Linked DNA regions of Homo sapiens: region 2 is linked to region 1. Evidence: promoter capture Hi-C in 16 types of primary human blood cells and fetal thymus (Javierre and others, 2016). All regions are on one chromosome and are shown on one strand. The core of a region is centred on a gene start or on the middle of the fragment in contact, and the rest is flanking DNA. Distances in the headings are between cores, read along the strand shown. Region 1 holds the start of GJD3 (gap junction protein delta 3). Region 2 overlaps LOC105371773 (a long non-coding RNA gene).

What was found. The method cuts DNA at HindIII sites, captures the fragments that hold promoters and counts their contacts. A CHiCAGO score of 5 or more calls a contact.
Region 2: a fragment that was not itself captured here is called in contact with the fragment with the promoter of GJD3 in region 1 in 5 of 17 cell types (megakaryocytes, erythroblasts, fetal thymus and 2 more); the score reaches 7.5 in megakaryocytes.

Annotation. Positions count from the first base shown.
Region 1 is chr17:40,361,259-40,368,082 of GRCh38, forward strand. It overlaps GJD3 (gap junction protein delta 3), which reads right to left and starts at 3,479. Exons shown (of 1, transcript NM_152219.4): 1 at 1-3,479. The coding sequence starts at 2,557. The coding sequence ends at 1,673. GJD3-AS1 (GJD3 antisense RNA 1) reads left to right here and starts at 1,587. Exons shown (of 1, transcript NR_186704.1): 1 at 1,587-4,177. It also overlaps the pseudogene PPIAP54. RefSeq lists an enhancer at 1,399-1,693 and silencers at 1,521-1,590, 1,711-1,790, 1,821-1,930. The HindIII fragment of the contact is 7,280 bases long and covers 77-6,824 here.
Region 2 is chr17:40,522,302-40,529,125 of GRCh38, forward strand. It overlaps LOC105371773 (a long non-coding RNA gene), which reads left to right. Exons shown (of 4, transcript NR_188623.1): 3 at 1,164-1,354; 4 at 4,143-4,701. Among named protein-coding and RNA genes, the nearest start is that of TNS4, 24 kb to the left of the region's middle. RefSeq lists a silencer at 2,296-2,590. The HindIII fragment of the contact is 3,374 bases long and covers 1,732-5,105 here.

The sequences.
Region 1 (6,824 bases), core at 2,229-4,728:
TCCCTATGGTTCTGAGCACACCTGGAAGCCGGTGCTGTGGAGTCGAAGGCCTGACAGGGGCAGGGCTTCAGAAGGAAGCTTTGTGAAGGCGCTTGACTCACCCTGAGGGCAGGGGTGCTGCCCTCAGTCCCGGGTTTAAGTGGGGGGCGCTATTCAGAAACACCTCCCACTGCTGTGTGGGGCACAGGAGAGCTGAGAAAGACGCCAGGAACTCAGAAGGACAGGGTGGGGTGATGGCGGGGAACGCACAGCCTGGTAGGCAGGATGCGGTGAGGCCCGCAAGGTGCAGTCCGATGACGGCCCCTGGATTTCTCGCTTAGGTCCTGGGTGATCTTATGGAGAGCAGCCCACTGGCTGGTGAAGGGGGAGGGCAGACGGGAGGGGAGACACAGGAGGGGGATGCGCTGCATAGGCAGCAGCTCTTCGAATGCCCGCAAGTAGGAAGAAGGGGGTGGTTGGAAGGGAAGGCAGGGCCGGGAGCGCGTGTGTTTTGGGAGCTTTCTCCTGAGGACAGAAGGGACTTTCCCGTTTATAGCCTGGGGGAGCAGTAGCGGCGGGGAGGATGAAGATGGAGGAGGGAGGCATAACACACGTCTGGGTTGCCCTCTGGCCCGCCGCCCACCCCCACCCCACCTCCATGAAAGCGCCCAGCCCCCGCCTCGCCACAAGGGGTACTGTGAGGATGTTGCTCATAGGCTCCCGAGGATTGAGGCCTGCCCGGGGAAAGGGAGCCTCTCCTCCTCTTCCCTCCCTGGGCGGGGTCTCTTGGGAGGGGGGGACAGACCTCCTGTGATGCCCTGGCAGGTGGGCTGGGTTAGGGTGGTAGGGAGGGAGCCATTGTGGCTGCAGCTGGCATCGGATCCTGGCCACCCCCGCAGTGCATATCAGAGATCACACACACACGCGTGCACACACAGAGGTCACGCCGGATGTACACATGCACACATAGCGCACAAGGATGTTTCTGTGTACAGGTGTGCACACGCAGCCCACACAGAATGGACATGTGCGTGTGTGCACAATGCACTCACACAAAGCTCACAGGGATGTGAGTACACAGCTCTCAAGGGGCATATGTTTCTGTGTGCATGTGCACACAGCTCACCCGGGAGGGTTACGTGTGTCTGTGTGCACAAGTGGGCCTCACGCAGGGTGTACACATGCGCGCACATGCACAGCGCTCACACAGGGTGTACAGGTGCGCGTGCACACAGCTCACAGTGCTTATGTGTCCGTGTATGCACACTCGCAGAGAGCCCACAGGGGGACCACTCTCTCTCTGAACACAGAGAGTGCCTGAGAATGCTGGCATCACAGTTGTTTTTGTCCCCAGTAAAACAACCACTCTCCACCTTCCGCTCTGTTCTCCCCCTCGGGTCCACTCTCTCTCAGGGTCCTGGTCTCCTTCCTTTCCACCTGGGTGGTGGCATCCAGGACCTGCCTGAGTTCATTCTCCGCCCCCAGCCCGGCCTGCCCCAGGTGCCGCCGGCAGCCACTGGGAGGCAGTACGAGGCAAGTGCGATGCCGCCCGCGGGCCGTCCCCACAACGCGTCTCCTGCCGGGGCAGGTCCCGCGACAGCTCTGGTGGAAGCAGCTTCCGGCTTCTGCGGTGCGGGCGGAGGTGGCGGGGTCCGGCCCTCGCCGTCCAGTCCGCGCGAGGCGGTGCCCGCCCCTAGATGGCCAGATCTCGGCGGCCGGTGGCCGGTGACGCCTTGCCGCGGCCGCTGCCGCACTCGCGGAGGCTGGCCGGCGCCGGGTGCGCATAGGCCGGCGGGGCGCACGGCTCGGGGCCGGGGCGCCGGGAGGGCAGGGCCGGTGGCGGAGGTGGCGGCGGCGGCGGCGGGAGCAGCTTCTGCGCCTCTTCGTGTGCACGGTTGCAGCGGTTGTCACGCTCCCCGGCGCGCGGGCGGCCCTTCCAGAGCAGGTGGCCCAGCTCGGCTACGCTGAGCAGCGCCGACAGCAGCCCCACCGCGAAATAGAAGAGCACGAAGACGGTCTTCTCGGTGGGCCGGCTCACGAAGCAGTCGACCGTGTGCGGGCAGGGCGGACCGGCGCACGCGAAGTGCGGGGCCACGCGGAAGCCGTAGAGCAGCGCCTGGCCGCCCAGGAAGGTCAGCTCGGCCAGCAGGCGCAGCGCCACGCTCAGCAGGTAGCAGCGGCGCGCGCGGCGGGCGCGCAGGGCGCACGGCGCGCACTGGGCCTCGGGCAGTCCGGGGGCGCACTGCGCCGCCGCCTCAGCGCCGCCCGCCTCCTTGCCTGCCCGGTGCATGGAGTAGACGACGAACAGCACCGGGGGCGCCGAGAGCAGCAGGATGTGGAAGAGCCAGAAGCGGTAGTGGGAGACCGGGAAGGCGCGGTCGTAGCAGGTCTGGCGACAGCCCGGCTGCAGCGTGTTGCACACGAACTCCTCTTGCTCGTCCTCGAACACGGCGCCGCCCACCGTGGCCAGCACCAGGATGCGGAAGATCAGCATGACCACCAGCCAGAGGCGGCCCACGAGCGGCGACTGCAGCTGCACGGCGTCCAGCAGCGAGCCCAGGAACGCCCACTCCCCCATGGCGCTGGGGACGCGGGGCGGGGAGTCAGGGGATGGGGCAAGTCAGGGACCCCTGCCCCTTCCAAGCCTATCGGGGTGGGGTCCGTTGGACCTTCTCTGACTTCAGGGTGAGTCGTGAGGTAGGAGAGGCCCGGGTTTAGCGATGAGACCAGTATGAAACGGAGGGCCACGGGAGGGCCCGAGGGGAGCAGGCGACGCTCAGCTATGGGTTACCTTCTCTTTGGGACCGATGGGTGCTGGGGAGGATCCCCCATTTGCATTTTAGCCGCACCCCCTGAGCCGTCTCCGTTCGACCCTGGGATCCTCCAGATCCCAGATTCTTAGGAAGGACCTTGGAGATCAGCTGGACCAGCCCCTGACTTGCCTGGTTTCGGAAGCGGAAACCCAGCGGTGCCCTTAGCTGTCAAGGATGCTGTGGGAAGAGTGGAGCCTCGAACCCGAGACGCTAGACCCAATTTGGTGCCCATGGGAGGAGTGGGAGTGGCAGAGGCAGCGAGACCACTCCTTTCTTGGCCCACCATTTCTCTCACCATTTTTACTGCAGTGAACTCCTCTCAGGGTGGGGGGCTGGTACAGAGGCAACTCCGCTTTCATAACTCTCACAGGGTCCTTTGTCGGAGGTGTCCCTGCCCTCCTACCCCAGCGTGGTGGGAGTGCGACGCCAGGCTTCTCCCTCCTCCCTGGCCTCCTGTGCCTCCAGCCTCCACATCTCCTGAGATCCTCCCCACCCCACACTTACACAGGTCCCCACACGCCCCTGGTGCCCCTAAACCGCCACCCAACCCCACTCACCCTGGGGCCGGGACTGGGGTGTCAGAGCTGAGCCAGGGACCTTGGGAGGTGGCTGGGACCGGCGCCTCCTGCTCCCTCTTTCATTTTCCCTTTCGGATTTGGCCAGGATGGAGGACAGGACAGGATGGCTGAGAGGGGCTAGCGCTCCCCCTTCTCTTAAAGGAACAGGGTGACCCTGCTGGCTGGCTCCGCCCTTGGGAACAGGCACGGACCACGCCCCTTGCTGGGCTCTGTGGCCCTCACTCTTTAGCTAAATTTCCATCTGGAAATGGGGGAGGGGGGTAACCAGAGCCACATCCTTTATCGAGGAAGCTGGGGGATTCCTAGAAGCCCTTCCCAGACAGACCCTCAGTCTGGAGCCTAGATCCACTACGCACTAACCATGCCCTGTGAAGATGGTCTTCGGGGACAGAGGGAGGTTTGGTGCTGGAGTTTAAGGGGCAGCAAACATCTAACAGCTTCTGGTTCCAGCTCTGCCACCGCTCACCTTGGACAAATCATTCGGCGGTACTGAGCCAGGCTTTCCTGCCTTGTCAACAAAGGCGGCCAGTCCAGCTGACCCCCAAGTTTCCTTCCAGCTTTACATCTTTTTTGGAACGGGGTCTCTCTACATAGCCCAGGTCGATCTTGAACTCCTGGCTTCAAGTGATCCTCACACCTTAGCCTCCTGAGTAGCTGGGATTCTCTACTTCTTAATATTGAATTCCCAACCATATTACAGAGAACCAAAAAAACCCTTGTGCCTGCAAAAAAAAAAAAAAAAAAAAAAATCCCATATGGAAAACCATTAAAATATCCCAAGTGCCTGGCTTTGATAGTTAAATAAAATCTTTGGTTTCCTTCCCACTTTTCTGTTATTTCCAGCTTTACTATAATGAACATGTTATTTATTTATTTATTTTTAATTTGTTTGTTTTGAGATGGAGTCTAGCTCTGTCGCCCAGGCTGGAGTGCAGTGGCATGATCTTGGCTGAATGCAACCTCCGCCTCCCGGGTTCAAGCGATTCTCCTGCCTCAGCCTCCCCAGTAGCTGGGATTACAGGTGTGCGCCACCACGCCCGGCTAATTTTTGTATTTTTAGTAGAGGTGGGGTTTCGCCATGTTGACCAGGCTGATCTCGAACTCTTGACCTCAAACAATCCGCCTATCTCAGCCTCCCAAAGTGCCGGGATTACAGGCGTGAGCTACCACACCCGGCCTAACATGTTATTTTATTATTTATTTATTTATTTATTTATTGAGACAGAGTTTTGCTCTTGTTGCCCAGGCTGGAGTGCAGTGGTGTGATCTCAGCTCACCGCAACCTCCTCCTCCCGGGTTCAAGCGATTCTCCTGCCTCAGCCTCCTGAATAGCTGGGATTACAGGCATGTGCCACCATGCCCAGCTAATTTTGTATTTTTAATAGAGACAGGATCTCTCCATGTTGGTCAGGCTGGTCTCGAAATCCTGACCTCAGGTGATCCACCTGCCTCGGCCTCCCAAAGTGCTGGGATTACAGGCTTGAGTCACCGCGCCCGGCCTCATGTTATTTTATAATGTGAAAAATAGGACTTTTTCCCCCCAGAAGGCTCTGAATTGAGAGTTCCCTCCTACTGCCCTGGGTGGCGGGGGAAGCTGTTTTATGGAGAAGGGAGTAAGGGTGACCGACGGTGATCTGAGTGGTCAGGGAGGGGACACTCCAGGCTGAGATGTTTGGTTGTCTGCTCTGCCTTCCTAGGGGTCCGCCTGAGTGCATAGCAAAACCCGCTTCACCTATGCACCTGCTGGGCCAGTCCCCGTGTGGAACCCCGTTAGCTCCATATGCCAATGAGCTCATTCGATTCTCTGTCAATGGTGGCATGAGGGCACTATTTACACCAGGGGAAACTGAGACTCAGAGGGTCTAAGCCACTTGCCTGCTGTCGCGCAGCCGGTAAATAGCAGATCCAGGCCTATGCGAGGCCCAACTAGTTCTTGAGCCCAAGCTCTTGAGCCTTTCATGGAACTGTCCTCCATCCAGCCTGGCTGGGCTTCCCAGGTGCTGTCCCAGGGCCTGACAGTCCCCAGGAGGGGTTGCCTCTATGCCAGCCTTGTGTGGGGCTGGTGGGTGCAGGCACTGGAGGGAGGTCATGCCTGCCCCTCTGAAGAAGGGCAGCAGGACTCACCTCCTTGGTCACAGTTCCTCTCCCTATCAGCCATGGGTGCCTGTGTGGTTTTCCATATGCTGACGCAGACCCCCAGGTCCACTTTCAGGAAGGGGAAGGCACGTACCCTTCACCCACCACTCCCTCCAGCTCAGGGGCCCAGCCCCCGCAGGAAAAACTCTAGGTAAACTCCTGCTTGTGTGTGTTGGGGAACCCTCCTGCCCTCGTGCAGGCTTCCCTTGGGAGTGGGCCTGGGTGGGGGACGCTGCCCTGGAGAAAGTCCAAGGGAAAAAGCACATGCTGGAGCCCCAGATTCTGAAAACAGGATGTGGGTTGGGGGCGCTGCTGGCCTCACCCTCCCGACCTCCCTCTGCCCCTGGCAAAGCTGCTACCGGCCCCCTGCCCCCAGCCACAGGGGCTCAGGGTCACATCTCATCTCCCTTGACTGTCCAGGAATGGTCCCCACCCCGTCCTGTCCCGTGGCTCCTGCTGGGTCAGGCCATTGGCGCCACCTGGAAAAAGCCCATCAGCCCTGCGGGAATGGAAAGCAGCTGAGGCGGTGGGCCAGGGTGGGGTGGGAAGTGGAGAGCCTACAGTCACCCTGTGCTGTCTGCAGCCTGTGATGCCACAGGGCCAGACCCAGAGACTCTACAATCTCAGGCCCGGTCCTCCTTCCCTGATAGCGCCATCCAGCCTGAGAGGAGGTGTTGCTGACGCTGCCTCCATCTGGCAGCCGGTGGCCCATTCTCGGCCATGCCTAAAGACTGGGGCCGGGGGCTGGGTGCAGTGGCTCACGCCTGTAATCCCAGCACTTTGGGAGGCCGAGGCAGGCGGATCACAAGGTCAGGAGATCGAGACCATCCTGGCTAACACGGTGAAACCCCGTCTCTACTAAAAAATACAAAAAATTAGCCAGGTGTCGTGGCGGGCGCCTGTAGTCCCAGCTACTTGGGAGGCTGAGGCAGGAGAATGGCGTGAACCTGGGAGGCGGAGCTTGCAGTGAGCCGAGATGGCACCACTGCACTCCAGCCTGGGCAACAGAGCAAGACTCCATCTCAAAAAAAAAAAAAAAAAATCTGGGGCTGGGCTGAGAGGCCAATCCTGCCTCGCTCCGGTCTCTGTTCCAGACACCTCTCCCTGGCCATCGGATTGTGGGGCCACTGCTCATGTAAGACACACATAGGTGCACGTATGTGTTTGTACCCAGTAACTATCAGCCATGGTCAACCCCACCATGTTCTTCAACATCGCCGCTGGCAGTGAGCCCTTGGGCTGTGTCGCCTTCGAGCTGTTTGCAGACAAGTTTCCAAAGACAGCAGAAAACTTTGGTGCTCTGAGCACTGGAGAGAAA
Region 2 (6,824 bases), core at 2,169-4,668, 160 kb after region 1:
AGGCGATATAGAACTGGGAGGAGAGAGAGAGAGGGAAGAAGGATTAGCAGCAAGACTGAGGGAGGAGGGAGGTTTGAGCAGCTGTAATGGGTGAGGGAAGAGAGTGGGTGGGAGAAAGGAGATTTGAGAAGCATCGCTATGATCCATGAATCTTTGTAGTCAAGTTTAAGAAATTCAAGTAAACAGAGTTATTGTGAAATTATTATTTTTTGGTTGCTATTCTCTCTCTCCTCTCCCACTCTGTCTCTTTTTTTTTTTCTTTGAGATGGGATCTTGCTCTGTCGCCTAGGCTGGAGTGACGCAGTGGTGAGATCATAGCTCACTGCAGCCAATTTTTTTTTGTAGCAACAGGGTCTTGTTATATTGCCCAGGGTGGTCTCAAACTCCTGGCTTCAAGTGATCTTCCTGCCTTAGCCTCCCAAAGTGCTGGGATTACAGGCATGAGCTACTGCGCCCAGCCTGGTTGCCATCCTTGATGATAACGCAGCTTTGAGACTGGACCATTTGCATGACGGCCTTATAAGTGATACCCCTAAGTAACATGCTTAGCACACAGTAGGGACACAGTAGGCACAGTGACTGGTGCTGTATCCTCTCAATTTGGATGACACTTGTGTGCACATGTACTGTCTCCCATATTGGACTGGGTGTTTCCTGAGTGTGGGTTGGATCACATCAGCCTGGGAGCGACTTGAAGCCTGGGACTCTATTTTGTTTCCCTGCCCTCCCACCCCCCGCCATATTAGATGAGAAGCTCCTTGAGGACAGGGATTCTTCCTGTCCTGCTTTCTTCATTAGACCTGCAACTCCCAGTGTGGGTGATGCTCTTCCTCCTTTTGGCTCTGCTCGAGGACTGAGAACAGGATCCTGCTCACAGACTGTGTCTTAGACCCACCTGCCTTGGCCTCCCAGAGTGCTGGGATCACAGGCGTGAGCCACCGCACCTGGCCATGATAGCTTGGCTTTCATATCTCTGCCTGGCAGTGGGTTTGGGATCTTCATAATCCAGTTCAGCTTGCTGCAACTCAATTAGACTCCAATACTTATTGATTGCCCACTGTGTGCTAGCTATAGGACTGGGTGCAGGGGAAATATGAGGATTCCCTTTAAGGAATCCCTCTCCACCAGAGGGACAGGTGTGTGCAAAGCTCTCTTTGTTGCAGAGAGATTGGAACTACAGCAAAGGTATGAACAGGTGTCACGGGGACACAGAAGAAAGAGCAGTTACTCTTCCGGAAGGTTGGAGAAGATTTTGTGAAGGTGGGGATGTTTGATTTGAACCTTGAAGAACAAGCAGAGACCCAAGAAGTACAGAAGAGGGGAGGTGGAAATAGCATGAACGAGGTGGGGCATGGTGAGTAGTCTAGTATGGAGTGGGAAGGAGGAATAGCAATGAGCATTTATTGAGCACCTACTAATCACTGGATTCTGTGCTAGGTGCTCTGCATATATATTATCTCACTTAATCCTCACAGCAATCTGAGAAGGTAGGTACTGATGTGGGAACTAACATTTGGAGAGAACAGATGGTTGAACCAGGATTTGAATCAGGTTTGTTTGACTCCAAACTCCATGCTCTTTTTTTTTTAATCATGCCAGTGGTTTTCCCAGTATATTCTACAAAATTTTTAGGGTTCTGAGGAGGTGCTTTAGGGACACGTATAATTTTAGTTTCGTATTTAAAATATATTATAATCAACAGACACTGAAATGTGTTATGTAACAAAAAAAAGCTTTCCTTCCATCTCTGTGCATATTTTTGAGTTTCTTGTAAATGTGTCATTGATTAGAAGGACTGCACAGTCTGCTCAGGTCTGTCTATGTAAAAGCACACACCCATGCCCACCAGCCTTCATTACAAGGTCAGTGGGACTTCCAATCCAAGAGGGTTGACTAAATGCACATGGGCTTATCTTTACCTCTTCCAGAAATGTCTTTGTAATAAATAATAAACATATCAATGCTTCCAAAGGAGAATTTGAATTGGGAGGGGGCACCTGTGGACAAGAGAAATCCCAACAAATTTCTGGAGAAGTGGTTCGATGGGGAAGGATGACTGAGTAAGCAGGACAGAGGAAGCTGCTGTGTGGAATGCACATGGCTGGGTTTGCAGCCAAAGAGGGAGCTGACCCACCAGCAGAGGCACAGAGAAGCTCAGGACTTGGATGTGCTAGGTGCAATGGAGGGTGGGAAAGGGATATGTGGCTGAAAAGGGGGAGCTTAATTGGAAGTCTAAAAATGGAACAGTTAAATCCCTGACTCTTATATGCAAACTGTTCAGCCAGCAGATGTTTGCTTTGTCCCCCATTTTGCTCCTTCCCCTAATTTCTTCTTTAAAGAAATTAAATTGCCTGAGGAAGACTAGGATAGCTGGGTTTTAAGGTGGCATCTGAGAACAAAGCACATTGCAGGCTGACATTTAGAAATCTCAAGGCATAAAGATCAGTTTACGTGGAAACAAAGCCTGCCATTCATCTCCTCTTATCCATGTACACAGAGCTTCCAGGAAAGTTTTCTACTGCTTCATTCTTAAATATGAATGGACAACCATAAGCCAGAAGCTATTTGAGGAAGCCTGAAATATGAAATAGAGAGACTAAGATAAGCAAAGTGAAAATAAGACCTCTGAGGAAACAAAGACAATTCATACGTAGAATAGAACTTAAAAAAAGAATTCAAGAAGACACTGAATCTATAAAACATGAGTAGTGATATGAAAAGAGAAACAATTAGAGAACACAAAAGCCCCAGACATAGAAAAATGTAATTAAAATTCATTGGAAATGTTGAAAGTTAAGGTCAAGGTAATCTCTCAGAAAATAAAGCAAAAGGTTAAAGAAACAGAATTTTATTAGATAATATATGAGACATAAAAAATTAATACAGGAGGTCCATGTTTGATTTATAAAGATTTCAGAGAGAAGGGAGAAATCAAGGGAGAGAATTTTCAAATAAATGACTGAACAGAATTTTTTAGACAAAACACTCCAGTCTTCAGAATAACAGGATTCATCAGGCAAGCCCCCAGCAAAAAAAAAAAAACACACAAGATTTAGAAATTTCAGAATACTTGGGAAAATAAGAAGATGCTAAAAGTTTCCAGAGAGAAAAAAATCACCTATAAAGGAATGAAAATCGGAAAGTCACCAGACTTCTCACTAGCAGCATTGGATGACAAAAGACAATGATGCAATCTCTTCCAAGTTCTGAGAGAGAGATTTTCAACTTAGAATTCAATACCTAGCTAAACTGTCTACTGGTTAAGAGGGCAAATCAAAGACACTTTAAGATACATGAGGACTGAGGAAGTTTACTTCCTATAGACTCCTTGTGGTAATGCTCCTAGAAAAAAAGACAGCAATAGAGGATGTGCAGCAGTAAAACAAAGGAGAAACCAAGAATGAGAAAAGCATGGAATTTTTGTCAGCTTATAAGTTAGCTTGGTATGTAGTTTTAATTAATTTGTTTATTTAGTGTGTGTTTTCTGTTATTGGGTTTAGGTATCAGGGTTATGCTAGCTTTGTAAGATGAACTGAGTTTTCTACGTTTTTATTCTCTGAAAGTGTTTGCACAGGGAATAATCTCCTTCTTGAATGTTTGCAAAAACAATTGTCCACATCTTTTTTTAAAAAACACTTTTTGGACAATATTTTCTATTTTCTTTCACCATTTTGTGCCTTTTGTGGAGGTCATTCTGCTACCCAATATTCAGTCTTCTTCCTTTATTGAAAAGAATCCAATTTTGCCAAGTTCAAAGTTCAATTTCATGGACTCCCTTTCAGAGAGTGGGGCAAGTGACACAGTTTTGGCCCATGAGATGAAAACACACATTTACTGAATAGAGTTTCTGGAAAAGCTATCAGTTTCCTGATAAAAAGGGACAGACTTAGCTGTCCCTTTGTCCTCCCTGCCTTGTCTGGAATGTAGACAGGATGCCTAGACGTGGAGGAGCAATCTTAAAAGTGTGAAGACAAAAGCCACTTTCTAAGGATGGTGGAGCAGAAAGGCAGGAGTCCTGCTCCCTGGCACCATCATGGAGCATGCCCAGCCCAGATCTGCCCCCCTCTGAATTTCCTGTTGCATTAGAAAAATATGTCCCTTTTTAGTTTAAGTTACTGATCTCAATTTTCTGTTATTTGCAGCAAATTCACTTTCAATTGATACAATCTTTCACGTCAGAGCTGCTTCTTGTAACACAGAAGTTTTCAGATTCTATGAAAAGGTATTGAATGAATTGAAGGCTCTGTTAAGGGGGCAACTATCTCCCCTCCCCATTCTCCTATCAGCCCATAAAACAGGAACTGACAACCTCTTGGAAGAATTGGGAAGGAACTTTTCGATTTTCTCTGTACAATCTTCACTGGTTCCTCTCTGTGAGAGGAGGAGGGACCTCTTGGATTGGTGTCGTTGGGAAAAGGGTATCAAGTGTGCATGGCTCAGCCTGTTCCTGGCTCTCTCTCTGGGACTGACCTGACTGCAAGCAGCATGTTCTCTGTCTGCTCCTGCCTCCTCCAGGCAATGAGCACCAGGGCGGGTCCAGCCCTTGCTTGGGAGGACTTCAATAGTCCAGCTGCTCTGCCGCGAGTGGGTGAGTGAGTTCAAGTCAGAGGAGAAGACACAGAAAGCTCATTTGGGCCTTGGGTCTTAGCCACATCCTCCAGTCCATCTGGACTAGCAATAAAGCTGACATTTTAATCCCTACTTGTCTCCTGTGACTATTTCTCAATTGGATCAGACCTCGGAGAAGTGAGGGATGTGATTAACTAGCACCCGCAAACCCCAACATCTGTTGAATATTTAGCCCCAGCGGGAAAAGCCAAAGTTAGATGAAAACACTGGTTTAAAATTCTGATAATTATTAGACAATACTTCTCTATCCTTGTTTGTATGTCTTTTGATCTTACTATAAAATGTGTATCATGTGGGTTTAAAAAAATTTTTTTAAATTTTCTTTTTGAAGGTAAGAGCCTGGATTGAGAGTGATAAGGCTCTTCTGAGTCTTGGCTACCACTTACTCACTCTGTCCCTTGACTTCTCTGGGCTTCAATTTTACCAATTATATAAAATGAGGAGGTTAGACTAGATGATCCATGAGGGCCATCCCAAGCTTCGGTGTTCTTTCATTCATTTGACCCCTTTTTATTGAGTATGTGTTGAGTGTGTGCTGGCAGCTGGCTCTGTGATGTACAAAACAAACCTGGCCCCTGCCATTTGGGGTTTAGAGTCTCATAGAAAAGACAGACATCAAACACACCACAAATAAGTGGACAATTACAAATATTTCACTTGTTTAGCCATTAAATGTTCCTAAGTGGTCATTTGGATTGTGAAGATTCCTACTTCTTCTCAGTTATCCACACTCAGGGCAAACCTTGCAGGGTCCAGCAGTCACACACAGTGGTGCCACTACTGCAGCTGTGTCCCAGCCATCGCTCTCGGGAAGACAACAAAGAGGCTTCCAAAGGGCTGGCCTTTTGGATTAAAAAAAAAGTTAAGCATTTTTTAAAAAGTCACAAATGAGTAACATGCTTGTTATAAAAATTTAAGCAATAAAGAAAAAAAAATTGAAAGGAAAAAATCTTTCTCTTGTCCCCTCCAAGCCCACTTGGAAAAAGAAATAATGGGTAGATGTGTGTCCTTCCATTAAGCTGCATATTTAACTGCAGGCTCTAGGAGGGCAGGGATGGCGTCTGCCTTACCCACTGCTGTATCCCTGGTGGGTGCCCAGGAAATACTTGCTGATTGAACTAGTGCATAAGTAGTAATCACACATAAAGGCTCATAGATAGCTATTTTTTTAAAGATTGAAAAGGAAATCATGCCACATATGTTTTTTTTCTTGCACCTTCCTTGTTTTTTTTTTTTTTTCACTCAAAAATCTGTCATGGAATCCCTCCATGTATTGGTTCCTAATTTACCCATTCCTCTTGTGCTGGGTTGAATTGTATCGCCCTCAAAAGCTACACTGAAGTCCTAATCCCAGGTCAGGCACTGTGGCTCACACCTGTCATCCCCAGCACCCTGGGAGGCTGAGGCAGGTGGATGACCTGAGGTCAGGAGATCGAGAACAGCCTGGCCGACATGGTGAAACCCTGTCTCTACTAAAAATACAAAAATTAGTTGGGCATGGTGGTGGGTGCCTATAATCCTAGCTACTCAGGAGGCTAAGGCAGGAGAATCACTTGAACCAGTGAGCTGAGATCATGCCACTGCATTCCAGCCTGGGCGACAGAGTGAGATCCTGTTTCAAAAAAAAAAAAAAAGAAGTCATAGGTACCTAATCCCTGGTACCTATGAATGTTACCTTATTTGGAAATAGGGTATTTGCAGACATGATCAAGTTAAGATGAGGCCATGCTCGATTAGGGTGGGTCCTAATCCAATATAGCTGGTGCCTTTATAAAAAGAGACAGAGACTGCAGCCATAAAAAAGAATGGGTTTATGTCTTTTGCAGGGACATGGATGAAGCTGGAAGCCATCATTCTCAGCAAACTAACACAGGAACAGAAAACCAAACACCGCATGTTCTCACTCGTAAGTGGGAGTTGAACAATGAGAACACATGGACACAGGGAGGGGAACATCACACACCAGGGCTTGACAGGGGTTGAAGGGCAAGGGGATTGAGAGCATTAGGACAAATACCTAATGCATGTGGGGCTTCAAACCTACGTGACAGGTTCATAGATGCAGCAAACCACCATGGCACATATATACCTATGTAACAAACTTGCACGTTCTGCACATGTATCTTAAAGTAAAAAAAAAAAAAAACTTAAAGTAAAAAAAAAAAAAAGAGTGAGCGTGAGACAGAAACAGAGAC